Linked DNA regions of Homo sapiens: region 2 is linked to region 1. The links are contacts of gene promoters, found by promoter capture Hi-C in blood cells and fetal thymus (Javierre and others, 2016). All regions are on one chromosome and are shown on one strand. Each heading gives the region's core, a stretch centred on a gene start or on the middle of the fragment in contact. The rest is flanking DNA. Distances are from core to core; before and after follow the strand shown. Region 1 holds the start of LINC00466 (long intergenic non-protein coding RNA 466). Region 2 holds the start of DMRTA2 (DMRT like family A2).

Evidence for each region. The method cuts DNA at HindIII sites, captures the fragments that hold promoters and counts their contacts. A CHiCAGO score of 5 or more calls a contact.
Region 2: a fragment that was not itself captured here is called in contact with the fragment with the promoter of LINC00466 in region 1 in 2 of 17 cell types (total B cells and naive B cells); the score reaches 16.4 in total B cells.

What each region holds. Positions count from the first base shown.
Region 1 is chr1:63,315,841-63,318,540 of GRCh38, forward strand. LINC00466 (long intergenic non-protein coding RNA 466) reads right to left here and starts at 1,417. Exons shown (of 12, transcript NR_038252.3): 1 at 1,218-1,417; 2 at 109-247. RefSeq lists a silencer at 1,563-1,742. The HindIII fragment of the contact is 23,330 bases long and covers 1-2,700 here.
Region 2 is chr1:50,420,769-50,423,468 of GRCh38, forward strand. DMRTA2 (DMRT like family A2) reads right to left here and starts at 2,675. Exons shown (of 3, transcript NM_032110.3): 1 at 2,348-2,675; 2 at 210-776. The coding sequence starts at 768. RefSeq lists an enhancer at 471-970. The HindIII fragment of the contact is 245 bases long and covers 1,129-1,373 here.

The DNA of each region.
Region 1 (2,700 bases), core at 167-2,666:
CACTTTGAGAGGCTGAGGTGGGAGGATCGTTTGAGGCCAAGAGCTTGAGACTAGCCTGGGCAACAGAGCGAGATCCCATCTCTACAAAAAATAAAAATAAAAAATTACCTGGGTGTGGTGGTGTGCATCTGTACTCCCAGCTACTCGAGAGGCTAAGGCAGGAGGATCACTTGAGCCCAGGAGGTCGAGGGCTGCAGCCATCTACAATTGCACCACTGTACTCCAGCCTGAGACACAGAGTGAGACCCTGTCTCAAAGAAAAACAAAAAAATGTGTTTCGATATCCGCGATCCATGTCACATCTGTTAGTGTACCTTTAGTACATGACTTCTGCATTGTTTGCTAACTGACATTCTGTGTGAATAAAGCGTGTATCACAATGGTGTTTCCGTATGTTATCCAAGTGGGTCCTTTCCCCAGGATGTGAGTGAGCCTTTGGCATGGTCTTTTTAAGATTTTGCCAAGGGAAGACTGGGCTGGAACTAAGGAGCTAACATACCATTGAAATCAAATATCCCGTTGGGTGCACTGGAGGGTAGAGAAGAGGGGATTCCTGCACTCACGCTAAATGATAAACTTTTCCAAGGGCAGGGTCGTGAGAGGTCTTCCAGGTCACCTAGTGTTCTGAGTCATGCAGAAGTAGGAAATGGACACAATACTCCCCGCAGAGAATCCTTCCCACAGGACTGATCCTGTCCCTTCCTCCCCTCCCCCGCCCCACACAAGGCGGAATCCCCACGCAGTGCACTGCAGGCGCGGTGGCCACTGCCCCTAGAACCAGATCTCTCCCCCAGTCCCGTCCTCTCCAAGCTCCAGATATGTCAAGGATTCTTAAGCAGGGGTTTTCCAATCTGTCCCTTGAGGAACTACCCCTGAGGCAAGGCGGGCAGGCCCAAGCTGCGATGTGGAGAATTCGATGTCCGAGCGACCTCCTCGGAGGAGTGGGTCGAGTTAAATATAACCGCGCGAATGGAATGGCGCTAAAAATAAGGCAGCAGCTGGCCTGTCCACAGCCCTGTCCCGGGAGGGGCGGGGGCCCCAGTGGTCTTGGGCAGGAAGGCCGCGTCCGGCCCAGGGGCGAGAAGGCTGCGGCGTCCGCAGCCAGGGCTGGAAGGCCTGGGAGGCCGCGCTCTGTGGGCCCCGGGGCCTCCATTCGGGCTGGGTCGCGGGCCTGGACGGGGACTGTCCAGAGGCATCCGAAAGCCAGGCCAACTTGCCTGGACGTAACAAGACGGAAGGGCTGGGCGCTGAGGTCCTGCCAGCCCGGCCGCCAGAGGGAGCTGAGCGCCAGAGGAGGACAAGCCGAACCCTTCAGGAGGCCGGGCGTCTCCGGAGACCGAAGCGCCGGAGGACCCGAGGAGGTCTGCCCCGCGCGCTGCTCTGGAGACTCCCGGGGCGGGTGGCGCTCGGCCTTTCCGCTCCCTTCCTTCCCACAAGTCCCTTCCCGCGCGCGCCCCACGGCCCTGCCCGCCCTCCCGCGTCAGCGCCCCAACCGTCAAGCCAGCAATTGAAACGTTTCCAAAACGGTCTATTTATTTGCTCCCAATAAATCGATCGGCGGTGATTAAAGAATCGATGTGGCCTGGGTGGGCGAGTCGCTTGAGGGGAGGGATTGGGGGCTTTCGCCCGGCGCCTGCAGGGAGGCCGAGGGCGGGCGCGGGCCTGAGGGAGGCGTGTCCCGCCCGGGCCACACCCGAGGACCCGACACCTGGGCTGGCAGGCCCCGGCAGGCAGCGTTCCCTCCGGCGGAGAGGGGCGCGCGCCCGCCGCCTGCTTTCCTCGGCCCCTCTCGCCTTTCTCGCGCGCCGGGGAGGCTGTGGCCGCCAGTGGCTGCGGAGCTGCTCAGAGGCTTTTGTTGCTCCTCGGCCGGCTGAATGGGGATTTTGTAAAGCGGGACAGATAAAAATGAGCAGCATCATATTGTTTGACAGAATGATCTCGCATGATGAAGTGTCGGCTCCGAAGGGGGTGAAAATGGTGAATTCCTAAAAACCCAGCCCTGGGCTCCTCCTCGAGCTGCCGGTAGCCTGGAGGGACCCAGCGGACAGCCGGGCCTGGCCGCATCGCTCCAAACGGTGTCAGAAAGACTCCGGCTTTCAATGCCAAGTCATTTTTAAGCCCCGATCCTGTCCAGGACCTTTCTCCTCGTGGATGAAAAGAACAATTTTCGAGAGAAAGGCTCGTTTTTATTAAATCCGACATGCTGCTGATAACTCCATGCTAATGTGAAATAATTAACATAATAGCCATAATTAAAAGCACGCTAACAATGCCATAAATTTATCACACAATTTTACTAGCTTTCTGCCCCTAACTGCTCTCTCATCGTTAATTAAACGTGTTGCCTTTTACAGAATGGATGTTTATATATTTCCAATATAAATAAATTCGAAACCATCCTCTCTCTCTTCCTCTTTCTCTCCTCCTTTCCTTTTGGTCTCTCGCCATTTACAGGCACGCCTTGGCGTGGACCCTGAGTGGCAGACATCTTGAAAATAAATGAAGTTTTGAGATGCAAATCCAAACAAGAACATTAAAATAGCCTCTTTTTTTCCACCCCGAAAAGATCCGGAGAGGTATACAAGGGGGTAGTGGTGGGTAAGAGAGTTGAAAATCCCCCGCTTTGGGAAATGGAAGTAATCTGGGTGGGTTGGGGCCTTGGGTACCACCTCTGCCCTTTCCCACCTTCCTTGGTGGCGG
Region 2 (2,700 bases), core at 1-2,500, about 13 Mb before region 1:
GGGGTAAAGTGCAAATGCTCCAGAAGCGGGAGAAAGGAGAGTTTCTGTACCCACGCTCCATACCCGAGGCTGGGCGAGCGGTGAACCCTAGCAGTCGCGGCGACTGGACACGGGGGTTCTACTCTTTCTGAACCGAGACAAGCCCCTGGGCCCCGTGCCCCAGAGCTACGATCCTGCTGCCCCTACCTGCGGCCTGGCCGCGCTCTCACCTGAGCCCCCTGCGCCAGCTGCTCCGCCTCCGGTCCCCGCGGGCGCTCCCGCTCCAGGTCCCCCGCCGTCGGCGGCGCACACTGAACCGAAGACCTCGTAGGCGGGCCTCGGGGGGATGATGCCGTTGGCGGCGGCCAGCGCCAGCCCCTCGGCAGTGCCGTAGAGCAGCTGCAGCTCGCGCGCCTCGTTCTCCTCCTGCGCCTGCTGCCTGCGCAGCGCCACCTGCGCCGCCATGACACGCTGGCGCTCCGCGATGAGCGTGCACTTGGCGCACAGGCAGTCCTTCCAGCGACAGTAGCGTTTGTGGCCCTTGAGGGCCGACACCACGCCATGGTTGCGACAGCGCGCGCACTTGGGGGTCCGCGGGTACTTCTCGGCTGCCCGCAGCAACAGTGGCGGCCCCCGCAGCAAGCCGCCTGCCACGCTCACCGGTAGCGATGCAGCGGCCGCCGCGGCTGCCGCCACCGACGCCACCGACGCCACAGGCGGCCCCGTCGCTGTTGCCGCCGCCGCCGTCGCCGCGCCGGGCACGCTGGGCAGCTCCGAGCGCAGCTCCATGACAGGACCTGACGGGAAAGAAGGTGGGAGAGGGGAGAGACCTGGTGAGGAGCACACCGCGCGCTAGGCCAAAGCGCCGCCTTGAGGAACCCAAGCTGGAGAGGGAAATTTGGGCCGCGGAGGCTGGGCTAGAGGGGCCAGAATTGCTGGGAGGAGGTGCAGTCGGAACCTCCTTGTGAGCCCTAGCACCTTCACCCCAGTCTGGCCATGGCTGCTCTTAGACCTGATATACACGCTAGGGGTAAGATTTTGTCTGAATTAGTGATTCCGCTGGAAAAAATAAAGAGACATGTAAAGTGTGAAAGTCACTGATTCAGATGGCTGTAATGAGAATTTGGAAAAGTTAAGATGATACCCCAAAGCTTAGCCTAATTGGGGTGAGACGGGTGAGAGAAATGCTCGTTTGACGGGACTGGGATTAGAGCGACAGTTTTGGCCCAGAAGTTAGGCTGATGCCAAGGGCAAAACAGGAAAACCCGGAGCAAAACGGTCAGTTTGGTGGAAGGGTGAAGAGGAGAGAGATGTGAAGGCGCAGATGTGAAGGCCGGTTGGGCCGGAGTTTTGTTTCTTTTTGTTTGTTTATTTTTAATGCAGTTTGGGGCAGAAGCTTTGGAGAGAAAAATCAACAACAGAAAGAATAGCTTTAGGAAGCAGAGTGAGGACGAGGAAACAACTTGGGCAAAGTTAGGCCCAGTGGCTCTGGGACCCGTAAAAATGTGAGCGCCAAAAGTTCCACGGTGAGGGCCTCCAGAGAGTGAGAGACAAAATGTATGTGGAATTTAGCTTAGGACTGGGAAGTATTAAAGAGAAAAATTCGGCCAAAGAAACTTTCTGTATAGGCAAACCCAGCCCAAAGATGAGCTTCATGGGCAAGGAAAACAGTGAAAAGCAGCTGATCTGGGTGTCCGGGATCCAGGGGCCGCGCCTGGGAGAGGGGAATGTGTAAGAAAAAACCCCACAGGCAAATGCTGGGGGAGGGGATTGGGTAAAACCTGTGGTGCAGTTTTTTAGCTTCGCAGTCTGGAGTAGTAGTCGGGGCGGAAGACGTATCCTGCGAAAAGTTAGGCATTTCGGGAGGGGGATCTTTCTCGAAGACCACCTCACACTGCCCTCCCCTCCCCTCCGGGTTTAGGGACAGAGTCGTCAGACACGCCCTCCCCGTCTTGGGGTCCCAGGGGACCCCTCTCGAGCGCAGGCTCCTGCGTTCTGATCTCAGAGTTGGGGTCCTAGGACACGGATGGCCCAGCAGGCCGCACCAAGCCAGGGGAGTCGCCTTCGCAACTGGCCATAAACGGACACCAGAGTCCCTCCCACGCCGCAGCCCCATAAGGCCCAAGCAGGCCCAGCTCCCCGCTTCTGCCGCGGTCTCCTCTGCTTCCCGCGTTCCCCGTCCCTGCCAGAGCCCGCGACAGAGTCCTTGTGTCTCCGTCCGAGAGTCCCAGACCTCCTCTCTATGAGCGTTGCCTCCTCTCCCAGACCCTTCGGGCGTCCCTAAGGCCCACGGGGCCCAGGCCTCCTCAACAGGGGCCGCAGACCAGGTCTCCACCCACTGCTCTCCCTGCGGCCCTCAACTACCTGCCTTGGGCTCCGGGATCCTCCTCCTCCGCTGGCGCTGCACGCGCCTCCCGGCTCCACTGGCGACGCTGGAGCTCTTGGCCGCTTCCCTTTGCCCCCGGCCCCTTATCTGACCACGTCACCCTCCTTCAGTCACCATGTCCGAACTTCCGGACCCCTCAGAACGCAGCGCAGTCCAACCCTCCCTTCAGAAATCCGGGTCGGAGGCTCGTCTGCGGGCCGCGTGGTTGGAACCCGCGACCTGACTCTCGCCGTGCCGGGTCCCCTCGCGGTGCGCGCCGGACGCTGCGCGCAGCCGGGGCCCAGTTGCCCGGCGCTGCCAGACTCTCAATGAGCCGCTCGCCCGCTCTATTGTTG